Regions from separate parts of the Homo sapiens genome. Here region 2 is linked to region 1. Evidence: promoter capture Hi-C in 16 types of primary human blood cells and fetal thymus (Javierre and others, 2016). All regions are on one chromosome and are shown on one strand. The core of a region is centred on a gene start or on the middle of the fragment in contact, and the rest is flanking DNA. Distances in the headings are between cores, read along the strand shown. Region 1 holds the start of OR10H2 (olfactory receptor family 10 subfamily H member 2). Region 2 overlaps NOTCH3 (notch receptor 3).

Region 1 (6,901 bases), core at 1,426-3,925:
TGGGTGTGGTGGCAGGCACCTGTAATCCCAGCTAAGTGGGAGGGTGATGCAGGAGAATCTCTTGAACCTAGGAGGTGGAGGTTGTAGTGAGGTGAGAATATGCTATTGCACTCCAGCCTGGGCAATACAGTGAGACTGTCTCAAAAATAAAATTATGATTTTCTTTCTTTAGGGTATATGCCTAGCAGTGAGATTGCTGGATTGTAAGGTAGTTCTATTTTAGTTTTTGGGAAACTTCCATACTGTTCTCCATAGTGGCTGTACTAATTTACATCGCCACCAACAGTGTATGAGGATTCCCTTTTCTCTGTGTTCTCACCTGGATTCTCTATCTTTTGGACAAAGCTATTTATTGTCTTCTATCTTTTAGATAAAAGCTGTTTTAACTGGCATGAGCTTTCAAAAATTTAGATTAAATTTATTTAACCTGAAATTATCCTTTAAATATTTTAAAGTGGACAATCAGTGGCATTTAGTACATTAACATGTTGTGCAGCTACTACCTCTAGTTACAAGACATTGTCACCATTCCAAAAAGAACTTCATATCCATTCATCAGTCATTCCCCATCCCACGCTAGCCCCATTCCCTGACAACCACACATCTGCTTTCTTTCTCAGTGGATTTAACTATTCTGGACATTTCTTATAAATGGAATTATATACTATGTGGCCTTTTGTGTCTGGCTTCCTTCACTCAGCCTCATGTTCTCAAAGTGCATCCACGCTGTTGCATGTATCACTGATTCAATCTTTGCGTGGTTGCATAATATTTCATTGTGTGGTCGGACCACATTTTGTTTATCCATTCATTCATTGATCCAGTTTGCATTGTAACATAAACTTTTGTATTTTGCATCTAGCCTGTTTGCAGACTGGCAAGAAAGAGAGTGGGAGAGGAGTCACAGCCTCCTAGTTTAGTTTGTTGGGGAACTTCCATAAACTAAATAAAGTAGAAGGGCTCCTATTGGTGCAGGGAGGAGAGCTGCCCTGGCAGAGAAATTGGGCAGATCTGACTCTGTGGCCACTCAGGGAAGGTGATGAGAGAAGCCATGGCTGATAGCCTAGGTTTTTGCTGTTAGGTTTGGGATTGGAGGATTGGGGTTGGGGTCAAAAAGAGGAGGAGACCAGCAGAGTCACGTAGTGGAAGCATGCTGGGCCCATAGCCTAGAGGTCAGTGGACCATAACCATTTTCTGCTAAGAAGTTTTTGACTGGGCATGGTGGCTCACACCTATAAATCCCAGCACTTTGGGAAGCTGAGGCAGGCTGATCACTTGAACTCAGAAGTTCAAGACCAGCCCGAGCAACATGGTTAAACCCCATCTCTACTAAAAATACAAAAATTAGCCAGGTGTGGTGATGCGGGCCTGTAATCCCAGCTACTCAGGAGGCGGAGGCAGGAGAATTGCTTGAACCCAGGAGGCGGAGGTTGCAGTGAGCCGAGATCATGCCACTGCATTCCAGCAGGGACAGAGTGAGACTCTGTCTCAAAGAAAAAAAAAAAAAAAAGCGGAATTGTGATAGAGAAAGAGTAATTCACACAGAGCTGGCTCTGCAGGGGACTGGAGTTTTATTATTACTCAAATCAGTCTCCCTGAGCACTTGGGGAGCAGAGTTTTTAAGGACAACTTGGTGGGTGGAGGGGAAGCCAGTGAGCCAGCAGTGCTGATTGGTCAGAGATGAAATCAAAGCTGTCTTCTTGCGGAGAGTCAGTTCCTGGGTGGGGGCCACAAGATCAGTTGAGCCAGTTTATCGACCTGGGTGGTGCCAGCTGATCCATCAAGTGCAGGATCTGCAAAATATCTCAAGCACTGATCTTGGGAGCAATTTAGGGAGGGTCAGAATCTTGTAGCCTCCAGCTGCATGACTCCTAAACCATAATTTCTAATCTTGTGGCTAATGTTAGTTCTACAAAGGCAATCTAATCCCCAGACAAGAAGGAGGTCTGCTTTGGGAAAGGGCTGTTATCGTCCTTGTTCCAAACTATAAACTATAAACTATAAACTAAATTTCCCCCAAAGTTAGTTCACCCTATGTCCTGGAATGAACAAGGACAGCTTGGAGGTTAGAAGCAAGATGGAGTTGGTTAAGTTAGATCTCTTTCGCTGTCTCAGTCATAATTTTGCAAAGGTGGTTTCAATTTTCCAGGGGAGCAATGAGGCTCAGAGAGGGGAAGCAACCTGCCCTGCATCTCACAGCTAGAAAGCAGTGGTGCCGAGAATTAAACAGAGTCTGGACGTTTCCATGACATAGGGAAGAGATGACTTCCAGCTGAAGGTGGCAATCAGGGAGCAGCTTGCTCATAAAATTCAGGTAGGATTTGGACCCATAAAGATAGGGAAAAGCATGAAAAGACCAGCATGAACAAAGGCAGAAAAGCAAGGTGTAGGTGGTGGTGCATGGATCTAATAATCGTGATGGCAATAACAATAGCAGAATAATTATTACTATCAACATTTATAATTTATTAAATTCTTACTTTGTGTCAGGACCTGCACAAAGCACTTAAGGTGAGTGATCTTATTTAAACCTCAATACATTATTATTAATGCCTTTCTGCAGATGGAGTAACCATGGCTTGGACAGATGAAGGAGGCGCTCTCAGATGTCCTCCCAGGCAGGAATCACTAGACACCCCCATGCTCCTAACCACTGGGTCTTCTTTCCTCTCTTCCCCAACTAGGGGTGGCCGTCATGCTGGGGCTAAACCACACCTCCATGTCTGAATTCATCCTCGTCGGCTTCTCTGCCTTCCCCCACCTCCAACTGATGCTCTTCCTGCTGTTCCTGCTGATGTACCTGTTCACGCTGCTGGGCAACCTGCTCATCATGGCCACCGTCTGGAGCGAGCGCAGCCTCCACACGCCCATGTACCTCTTCCTGTGCGTCCTCTCAGTCTCCGAGATCCTCTACACCGTGGCCATCATCCCGCGCATGCTGGCCGACCTGCTGTCCACCCAGCGCTCCATCGCCTTCCTGGCCTGTGCCAGTCAGATGTTCTTCTCCTTCAGCTTCGGCTTCACCCACTCCTTCCTGCTCACCGTCATGGGCTACGACCGCTACGTGGCCATCTGCCACCCCCTGCGCTACAACGTGCTCATGAGCCCACGGGGCTGCGCCTGCCTGGTGGGCTGCTCCTGGGCTGGTGGCTCGGTCATGGGGATGGTGGTGACCTCGGCCATTTTCCAACTGACTTTCTGTGGATCCCATGAGATCCAGCATTTTTTATGTCATGTGCCACCTCTGTTGAAGTTGGCCTGTGGAAATAATGTACCAGCTGTGGCCCTGGGCGTGGGCTTGGTATGTATCATGGCACTGCTGGGCTGTTTTCTCCTCATCCTCCTCTCCTATGCCTTCATCGTGGCCGACATCTTGAAGATCCCTTCTGCTGAAGGTCGGAACAAGGCCTTCTCCACCTGTGCCTCTCACCTTATTGTGGTCATTGTGCACTATGGCTTTGCCTCTGTCATCTACCTCAAGCCCAAAGGTCCCCACTCTCAGGAGGGTGACACCCTGATGGCCACCACCTACGCAGTCCTCACGCCCTTCCTCAGCCCCATCATCTTCAGCCTCAGGAACAAAGAACTGAAGGTTGCCATGAAGAGGACCTTCCTCAGCACACTCTATTCCTCAGGCACCTGAGTAGCTGGTGTGGAAGTGCTGATAGAATATGATAGGAGGATGACCATCACCTTGTCTGCACAGTGTGGCTAGTAATGCTTACCTTGTAAGGCAGGTGTAAAGATTTCTGTATATGACAACACTCATCACATAGTAGGTGCTCAGTAAATGTTAAAAGCATGTTTACTTCCACAACTCTTGATCTGTATGTCTTTATCTGAGTTTTAATTTTTGAGTTATAGTAGCTTTATTAAGATGTAATTCACCTACCATACAATGTACCCATTAGAGCGCACATTTCTGTGGTTTTTGCGTATTCAGAGTTATGCAACCATCATGACAATCTGGCTTAGAGTATTTTAGTCATCCAAAAAAGAAACCCAAATCCTAGTGCTTTGGAAGGCTGAGTGGGAGAATTGTTTGATGTCAGGAATTCACGATCGGTCTGGACAACATAGTGAGATGCCATCTACACACACACACAAACACATACACACACACAAGTTCTTTTTTTTTTAATTTATTACACTTTAAGTTTTAGGGTACATATGCACTACGTACAGGTTAGTTACATACATATACATGTGCCATGTTGGTGTGCTGCACCCATTAACTTGTCATTTAACATTAGGTATATCTCCTAATGCTATCCCTCCCCACTCCCCCTACCCCACAACAGGCCCCAGTCTGTGATGTTCCCCTTCCTGACACACACAAAAATTCTGATAATTAGCTAAATGGGGTGGCACATTCCTGTAGCCCCAGCTACTCCAGAGGCTGATGTGGGAGGATTGCTTGCATCCAGGAGTTCGAGGCTGCAGTGAGCCATGATCACCACTGAACTCTGACTTGGGCAACAGAGCCAAACCTTGTCTCAAACAAACAAACAACCCATACTCATTATCAGTCACTCTCTGTTTCCTCCAAATCTCCATGCCCTCCAGCCCTAGGGAGCCACTAATCTTTCTGTCTGGTTAGAGTTGCTTTTTCTGGACGTTTCACATCAATGGACAACTGTAAATATAATTCTTTTATTTTCAGATGAATTGTTTCACTGAGCATAATGTTTTTGAAGTTCTCCTACATTGTAGCTTGTATCAGTACATCATCTTTTTTTTTTTTCAAGACAGAGTCTCACCCTGTCACCTAGGCTGGAGTGCAGTGGCATGATCTTGGCTCACTGCAACCTTCGCATCCCAGGTTCAAGTGATTCTCTTGCCTCAGCCTTCCAAATAGCTGGGATTACAGATGCCTGCCACCATGCCTGGCTAATTTTTGTATTTCAGTAGAGACGGGGTTTCACCATGTTGGCCAGGCTGGTCTTGAACACCTGACCTCAAACACTCCACCCACCTCGGCCTCCTAAAGTGCTGGGATTTCAGGCATGAACCACCGTGCCCAGCCAGTATATCATTTTGATTGCCAAATAATATTCCATTGTATGGAAACACTACATTTTATTTACCCATTTGTCATTGATGGACATTTCAGTGTTTCTAATTTTTGCTATTTTGAGTAATACTGCTATGAGTGATCAGTACAAGTGTTGCAATATATGCTTTCATTTCCTTGGGATATATACCTAGGAGTGAAATTGCTGGGTCAAGTGGTATTTCTATGTTTATTTTTTTAGGAACTTCCAAGCTGTTTCCTAAAGTCTATGCACCATTTTACATTCCCACCAGCAATGCTGCAGGGGTCTAGGTCTCTGCAACCTCACCAATACTTGTTACTGTCTTTTTGATCACAGCCATCTTCGTGGGTGTGAAGTGGTATCTCATTGTGGTTTTGATCTGCATTTCCCTAGTGAGTAAGGATGTTGAACATCTCATCATGTGCTTATTGGCTATTTAGATATGTTCTTGGAGAAATAGCTATTGAGATACTCCACCCATTTTCCAATTGGGTTGTTTGTATTTTTGTTGTTAAGTTGTAAGAATGCTTTATATTTTTAGTTAAGACTCTTTTATCTGATCTGTGATTTTCAGTTATTTCCTTATAGTTTGTGGGTTGTGTTTTCATGGTCTTTTTGGTGTCTTTCTGTAGCACAATAGATTTACATTTTGATAACATCAGTGTACCTATTTTTTTTTGTTGTTGCTTGTGCTTTTGGTGTCACATCTAAAAAAACATTGTATTGCTTTATCTAAGGTCATGAACATCTACGTTGCCTCATAAGAGTTTTGTAGTTTTAGCTCTTACATTTGGGTTTTTGATATATTTTGAGTGTCAAACTTTGTGTATGGTGTGAGGTAGGGGCCTAATCTTAGTTTTGGCTGGGTTCAGTGTGGTTGAATGAATCCTGTCTGTGAACTTCCATCAGTGACCTATGTCTGTGATTATATAAGTTTGTGAGGATGAGGAAATAATCATCACACACACACATGGCCCTAGGCAGACACATCATTCATACTGAATTAGTAAACACACTTCATTCCCAGCTACTAGGTTGCTTCCCATGCTGTTGCACAGCAATAGTAAAATAATAATGGTAGCCACTGTATGAGTGTCTACTGTATGTTGAGCTGTATACTATGTCCAGCACCCTTCATAGATCATCTCTTCATTTCTAAAACTGTGTAACAGGTAAAAAGACAAGTGTGCCAGCAAAAATTGCTTATTATTTTTAATTTCTCAAAGGTTTTGAGGGAGATTGAGTTCTAGAAAGAGATTTCTCTATACAAGCTGTGGAAAGTGGGCATGGTGGCTCATGCCTGCAATCTTAGCTACTTGGGAGGCTTAGGTGGAAGGTTAACTTAAGTCCAGGAGTTTGAGACCAGCCTTGGCAACACAGGGAAACCCCAATTTTACAAAAAAAAAAATACAAAATATTAGCTGGGCATGTTTGCACTAGCCTCTAGTCCCAGATACTCAGGAGGCTGAGGCAGGAGGATCACTTGAGCCCAGGAGATTGAGGCTGCAGTGAGCTGTGATCACATTACTGCAATCCAACCTGGGTGACAGAATGAGACCCTGTCTCAGAAAAAAAAAAAAAAAAAAAAGACTGCCTCGAGCCTAGTTTGCTATATACTACTTGTACTTGCTGACAAATTGGATTGTGCATCTAATTTTATGGCTTTGTGAACAGAACGTGCCTAGTCCAGGATAAGCATATTGGGTTGTGTCCTTAATGGGGCTCAGAAGTGAGTGAAGCCTTATTGTCCCAGGAAAGAATAGTGATTTCTTGCTCTAACATATTAAACATTTCCACTGTGGATCTCCTATTGAGCTCTGCAAGGTTTTACACAACATCCTCATTTTCCAGTTGCTCAGAGCACC
Region 2 (6,901 bases), core at 1,261-3,760, 570 kb before region 1:
CTTCTCCAGGAAGCCTTCTGTAAGAACCCCCAAGCTAGTCATATGCAGTATCTGGGCTACCAGAAGTCCTGGGTTGTCTCTTCATATTGTCTGTGTTCCTCTGTGTCTCCTGTTAGCCTGTGAGCTGTCGGACCTGGCCTCATCTTATTCCTTTCTCCAGGAGCATTAAACTTAGATGATAAATCTGTTCCTTGCAATGCTCCTTTCTCTTTCTTTTCATGGTATATGCTTTTTCTCTGGCCACTCTTCCTTAGTCTCCTCCTCTTCTGACCCCTAATATGATAATTCCCCAGGGCTCAGTCCTAGACCTTCTTATCTCTCCCTAGCTGATGAATATAGACTCATGATTCTGTGTACCCAATCTATGCCAAAAAGCCTGCATAGTTTGGGTTTCCCCCAGACACAGACTCTGAGACAAGGATTCCAGTGGAAGTAAGTTTATTTGGGAGGTGATACCAGATCTGAAGAAGTGAAAGTAGGAACAAAAGGAAGTTTATAAAGCATGTCCTATCAAGTAACTTATCCCTGTAAGCAACTGGGGTCAATCCCACTGGAGACCTCTGGGTGGCAGCATAGAACATTCACTGCAGAGGGGTAAGGGAGCTGAGGTATGTATACACCCACTCCAGTTGGTTATTGTTGAGGGTTGCTCCTGAGTGCATTAATTATCCAATACTCCTGTCCTGCTGTACATGTGGATGGAGTAAGCTTTAATGTCCAGAGAAAGCCCTCAGACAAATAGATGCAAGCACCGAGTGTTGGAAATCAGGCCAATATGCAGTGAAGTTGTCAGAGAAAGTGGATGCGGGCAGGGGACTGACACCATCTGCTGCATGTGGTTTGTCCACTTCATTTCTGACCATTCTTTGTCACTCTCTTTCTTTACTTTTACTGTTCTGATATTGAAGTAGCTCACGGCTTCAACCTTGACTCTCTTCTCTCTAACTGATTAGTACAATCATATGGTTTTAAATACCACTTCCTTACCAGTATTCCCCAAATCTACATCTTAGATCAGCCAACCACTCTGAGCTCCAGATGCATAATCCAACAATCAATCATCAACCAATGTGAGGTGGAATGTCAGAAAAAATGTCAGAGTAAGGACCTCCATAAATTATGTCCTCCATAAAGAATGAAAAAGCTAGAAAAAATTGTTAGACTAAATTTTTGGGAATTCTAGAAATTAACTAAAGTCTTGCAGCAACTCAGAGAAAATGTATTCAGAAAATTACTGAATATCAGTGAGAACAGCATACTCGGCATTTTAACATCTCTGGTCTTCTCCCCCACTCTCCAGCTCCGTGGTCGTCTTGAAAAATACCAGCCCAAACTCTGGTGCAGCCTGGCATCCACCAGAGAGAGCAAAACAGAACTAGAGCACTTTCAAGCCTCATTCCCAAAGAATTGTCATTATTTTTTAAATTTTATTTATTTATTTATTTATTTATTGAGATGGAGTCTCTCTCTCTCTGTCGCCCAGGCTGGAGTGCGGTGGTGCAATCTCAGCTCACTGCAACCTCCGCCTCCCAGGTTCAAGCAATTCTCCTGCCTCAGCCTCCCAAGTAGCTGGAATTACAGGCATGCACCACCACGCCTGGCTAATTTTTGTATTTTTAGTAGAGACAGCGTTTTACCATGTTGGCCAAGCTGGTCTCAAACTCCCGACCTCAAATGATCTGCCCACCTCGGCCTCCCGAAGTGCTGGGATTACAGGTGTGAGCCACCACACCCGGCCAAGAATTGTCATTATTTACCAAGCTAATGGTTCCCTGCAAGATCCCACTGGCAAAGCTCTCTGTATTTGACCTGGCTCTGAGATAAACCATGCAAAAAGCCTTCACTCTGGGGGTCCTTTGTTGACAACAGCTACAGGAAGGTATTTTAGCTTCATGGATGCCTGAGGCAGTGAGTGACAGTTGAGACAAATAGACTAAACCAAAAGCTAGGGAAGGAGCTGTCTATAGAGGCTTTGAAAGGCTCAGATAAGGCTGGGTGCAGTGGCTTATGCCTGTAATCCCGGCACATTGGCAGGCCAAGGAGGGTGGATCACGAGGTCAGTAGTTCAAGACCAGCCTGCCAACATGGTGACCCTGTCTCTACTTAAAAATACAAAAATTAGGCCAGGCTCAGTGGCTCATGCCTGTAATCCCAGCACTTTGGGAGGCTAAGGCAGGCAGATCACCTGAGGTCGGGAGTTCGAGACCAGGCTGACCAACATGAAGAAACCCCATCTCTACTAAAAATACAAAAATTAGCCAGGCGTAGTGGTGCATGCCTGTAATCCCAGCTACTCAGGAGGTTAAGGCAGGAGAATTGCTTGAACCCAGGAAGCGGAGGTTGCAGTGAGCCAAGATCACGCCATTGCATTCCAGCCTGGGCAACAAGAGTGAAACTCCATCTCAAAAAAAAAAAAAAAAAAAAAGAGAAGAGGCCGGGCACAGTGGCTCACGCCTGTAATCCCAGCACTTTGGGAGGCCAAGGCGGGCGGATCACGAGGTCAGGAGATCGAGACCATCCTGGCTAACATGGTGAAACCCCATCTCTACTAAAAATACAAAAAATTAGCCAGGCGCGGTGGTGGACGCCTGTAGTCCCAGCCACTTGGGAGGCTGAGGCAGGAGAATGGCATGAACCCGGGAGGCAGAGTTTGCAGTGAGCCGAGATCTCGCCACTCCACTCCAGCCTGGGAAATAGAGCAAAACTCCGTCTCAAAAAAAAAAGAAGAAGAAAGATTGGTAGATGGATGGAGAGAAAGATATATAAATGATAGATGATAGAAAAATAGAAAGATTCATAGATATAAATAGACAACAGAGGACAGAGAAGCATAAGATAGATATAGACGGATGAAAGATAAACGATAGATGATAGACATAGATAGATAATAAATAAATGATTGACATTCTAGACAGATGAGGCATGCGCAGAATGTAGGCAAGGAATGTTACTATACCTTGGGGCTCACAATGGTGGAGAGCCTTTATCGCTTCTATGCCAAAAGGGCCAAGCAGAGGAAACAATAACCCAGACCCACAGAGGGTAGGTAGCTGGAGGGAGAGCACTGCAGGTACCCTGCAGGCAGGGAGCCAGGGAGACAAATACATTCCACCCTCTAATCCCTCACCTGTGTCTCTCATTGGCCAAACCCAAGTGGAAGCCAGAGAGTAAGGAAACCCATTGATGCCATCTACCTGGGTCATTCTCCCAGAGCACAGAGAAGAGTTGAGGAAGATCAGTGCAGATCTGGAGGCAAAAAGCAGACACTCAGCTGTTTTATCATTGTCCTTTCAGTCAAAAAACCAACTAGGATGTCAATTCCAAAGTCCCCAACCCTTCCCAACTTCAGCATGCCAATGAAATCACATACATATGAATCCTTGAATCTCATTAGTTAATTTTCCTCCATCACCAGTGCAGGCTTCCTAGTCCTCAACCTAACATCCTTTCTGCAATCATTCCAGGGAGCTCCCAGTGTGGGTGAGTCTCACATGTGCTTACAAATAAGTCAGCTCCACCAGGTACGAAAGTGGGTTCCCGCTGTGGGACACTCTTCTTCAATATTCTGTTGACATGAAGCCAAGGTTGCATGATAGAGTGGACAAAATGGGTAGGGAGAAGGACTTTCTCCTCATTTGTACAGCACTTGGGAAGAAGAATACCCAAACTTGCTTAAGCCCCAGTAGATATTTTATTTTTTATTCCCAAGAATCTACTCATGCATAAAGCTAAGATGGACTTCTCTTGGGCCAATGATTCAAGTGCAAGGAATTTATTCGCAAGATCATTCCAGAAAGCTCTAGTAGGAGTGAGGAAGAGTAGGTTGCTGCTGTGGGCAACTGGGGCTTAATCCCAAAGAGCATCCTTTGGGAGACTCTGTGGATCATATCCATGAATTCCCACAGAGAGTGGCGAGGAAGCTGGGGTATTTATCCACCATCTCTCATTCATCCCTCATATGTTGAGGGTTGCTCCTGCCCCACACAAGAGAAAGTTCCCAGGTGGAGAGTCTCAGGTGTTCAGTCAGATGCTGTCAGCAAGCACTAGAATGGTAAGTTCCAAGGGTATACAGGGGTGCACCCCCCATACATCCCTCAACTAGCCTGAAATTCCATAAAAGCAGAGACTGGGCCTATATAATTCACCATTCTATTCTCAACAACTTGTCCGGGAGTTGGCACACGGTAGGTGCCCAATACAGGTTAGAGGGTAAGGGAATAAACATAAAATAAAGTTGAGACAAACCTAAAAGAGACTGTTTCATCTTCAAAGACTTAGCCTAAAGGGGGTGGGAGAGGAGTAAACATTTATTAGAAGCTTCCACAGAATTCATGCTTCTGCAAACCTGATTGCCCCTAAATTTAGCACATCAGTAGTTCCAAAGAAGAGACTTTAAGACATGCTTTAAGACAACAACAGGTGTGAATCTGCCTCCCAGATGACAATTGGCAATGTCTGGAGACATGTTATATTGGTTGTCACAACTGGAAAAGGGGTGCTGCTGGTAGCTAATGGGTAGGGACCAGAGATGCTATTAAATATCCTACAATGCACAGGACAGCTCCCCACAGCAAAGAATGATTTGGCCCCAAATGTCAATAATGCCGAAATTAAGAAACCTTAGGTTAGAGGGTGGATACGTGAACCAATTGGAGTCAATAGAAAAATCAACCACAAGGTCGAGTGCGATGACTCATGCCTGTAATCCCAGCACTTTGGGAGGCCAAGGTGGATGGATCACCTGAGGTCCGGAGTTCGAGACCAGCCTGGCCAACATGGTGAAATCCTGTCTCTACTGAAAATACAAAAATTAGCCAGGCATGGAGGTGGACACCTGTAATCCCAGCTACTTGGGAGACTGAGGCAGGAGAATTGCTTGAACCCGGAGGCGGGGGATGCAGTGAGCCGAGATTGTGCCATTGCACTCCAGCCTGGGTGACAAGAACAAGACTCTATCTTAAAAAAAAAAAAAAAAAAAGGAAGAAAGTAAAAGAAAAATCAATCACAATACTAGGAGTTTCTCTCTTCCCTGGAAGGAGCAATATGGCACCTATTTTGATAACACAGAGAGAAGGCTGGAGCTGTGTGATGTCGGGAAGAGAGGTTCTACTGGGTGCCATGTGGAGCATGTAGATGAAACTGATGCCCAGAGAAAGCTGTAGAGATGAAGAGAAACTGAGCCATTGTTGACCACATTTGAGCCACTAGATCAATTCTCCCCTGAAGTAGGTCCTTTTAATTTATATGAGCTAATAAACCCCTTTCTTGTTTAAGCCAGTAGACTTTTGTGTCATTTGCAACCAGGAGCACTCCAACTGACAGAATCAACGAACATTAAATCCTATCCTCCTTTCCTGAAGACACCAGTGTAAACAGAACCTTGTCTTGGAGCACGACTGGTTGCGAGTAACAGAAACCCACCGAAGCTGGCACAAGTAAAGAAGTATTTATTACATGGGTCCAAGGTTATCTCCAAAACCCATAGGAGCATGAAGTAAAAGTGAAATTCATGCAGAACCATGATCAGATACTTAGAAAGCAATTAATAAATACCTGTTGATCTCAATGGAATGAACACTCAATTAACTGGAATTGATAACTGCACTGGGAGCCGAGATAACCCCCCCAGCCCTCAAGGAGCCATTTGAGCTCTCATTTCTGATTCTCCCTGAATATTAGCTTCATTCTTCTGCCCTGTTTGCTTGTCTCTTTGCCCACCACCTCGAATTGGCCACTGATATTTCTAAATCTGATTGTGACCTTAAGAGCTCCACCAACTGACAACTTTCTTAGCCTCTCCATTAAAGAAAGTTCTCGAGCAAAAGAATCTGATTGGCTCAGCTTAAGTCAGGTGACAACCACTAATCCAATCGGTAGTCATCTGCCAAAAGAGGAAGCATAAGTAGACTGGCAAGTCAAATGTATTTACCCCAAGATGGGAGCTCAAGTTAGCCCTGGGTGGGGGAGATAGAAGTCCCACTGCCACCACTCCCCACCTTACCTAGACACAGACCAACAACACTGAGTGTTAACTATTCCTTTATTAGGTGGTGAGGGGAGTGGGGGGCTGTACAATGCAGGGCTTGGGAATTCAGCTACACAGGGATTTTGACCAGAAGCCATATTACAAAAATAGCCTAAAAATACCTCTATTCTGCCATGAGGCTGGGCCAGAGGATTACCAGGAAGAGAAAGTACCACTCAGGCAGCTCCTCTTCTTGTAGTCCCACATTTACAGGGACACAAAGGAATGCATACATCTGCCCTGGCTCCCATTTCCCACCAGCAGCCCCCTAGTTCCCAAAGGGAGATGGCCAAGGGTGGGGCTGGGGCAGAGGGAGTTGGCAGTGGGCCCTTCCCCAGCAAGGCTATGGAACATGTCCCATCTGGAATGCAGTGAAGTGAGGGAGGTGGGGTGGGGAGGAGGCTCCCAACACTCCCCCGACCCCTGGCCCCAGTGGGTGCGCCCAAGGGTGCCTACTTGGTACATACCTGGGTCGTGTACTCGGTACACGGGATCCCAGTCATGCCTGTGTACTAGGTACACAGAATCCAGCTTGGCCGAATGGGCCCACAGACTCAGCCCCACGGGGGCACTGGGGGGTTCACAGGGGGAGGGAGCATCTCCATATATATATTTTGTAAAAAATAATAATAATAAGTTTGTTTAAATGAATTTGTTTCTATACAAAATGTAAAAAAAAAAAGAAAAATAAAAATAATAATAATTCATTCATGTCAGAGTGTAAGGAAATGAGAGGCCAGAAGGAGAGAGAAAGGAATGAGGGAAGAGAGAAGTGGGGAAGAAGGAGGTCCCAGACTCTTCACAAGACTGAGAGGGTGGGTGGTAGCCCCCACCCATTATAAATAAAGGAAGACTGAAGCCCTGGGCTGATGACCT

The links. The method cuts DNA at HindIII sites, captures the fragments that hold promoters and counts their contacts. A CHiCAGO score of 5 or more calls a contact.
Region 2: a fragment that was not itself captured here is called in contact with the fragment with the promoter of OR10H2 in region 1 in 1 of 17 cell types (neutrophils); the score reaches 6.5 in neutrophils.

What each region holds. Positions count from the first base shown.
Region 1 is chr19:15,725,349-15,732,249 of GRCh38, forward strand. It overlaps OR10H2 (olfactory receptor family 10 subfamily H member 2), which reads left to right and starts at 2,676. Exons shown (of 1, transcript NM_013939.2): 1 at 2,676-3,704. The coding sequence starts at 2,696. The coding sequence ends at 3,643. The HindIII fragment of the contact is 20,205 bases long and covers 1-6,901 here.
Region 2 is chr19:15,153,611-15,160,511 of GRCh38, forward strand. It overlaps NOTCH3 (notch receptor 3), which reads right to left. Exons shown (of 33, transcript NM_000435.3): 33 at 5,428-6,901. Among named protein-coding and RNA genes, the nearest start is that of MIR6795, 22 kb to the right of the region's middle. The HindIII fragment of the contact is 3,609 bases long and covers 707-4,315 here.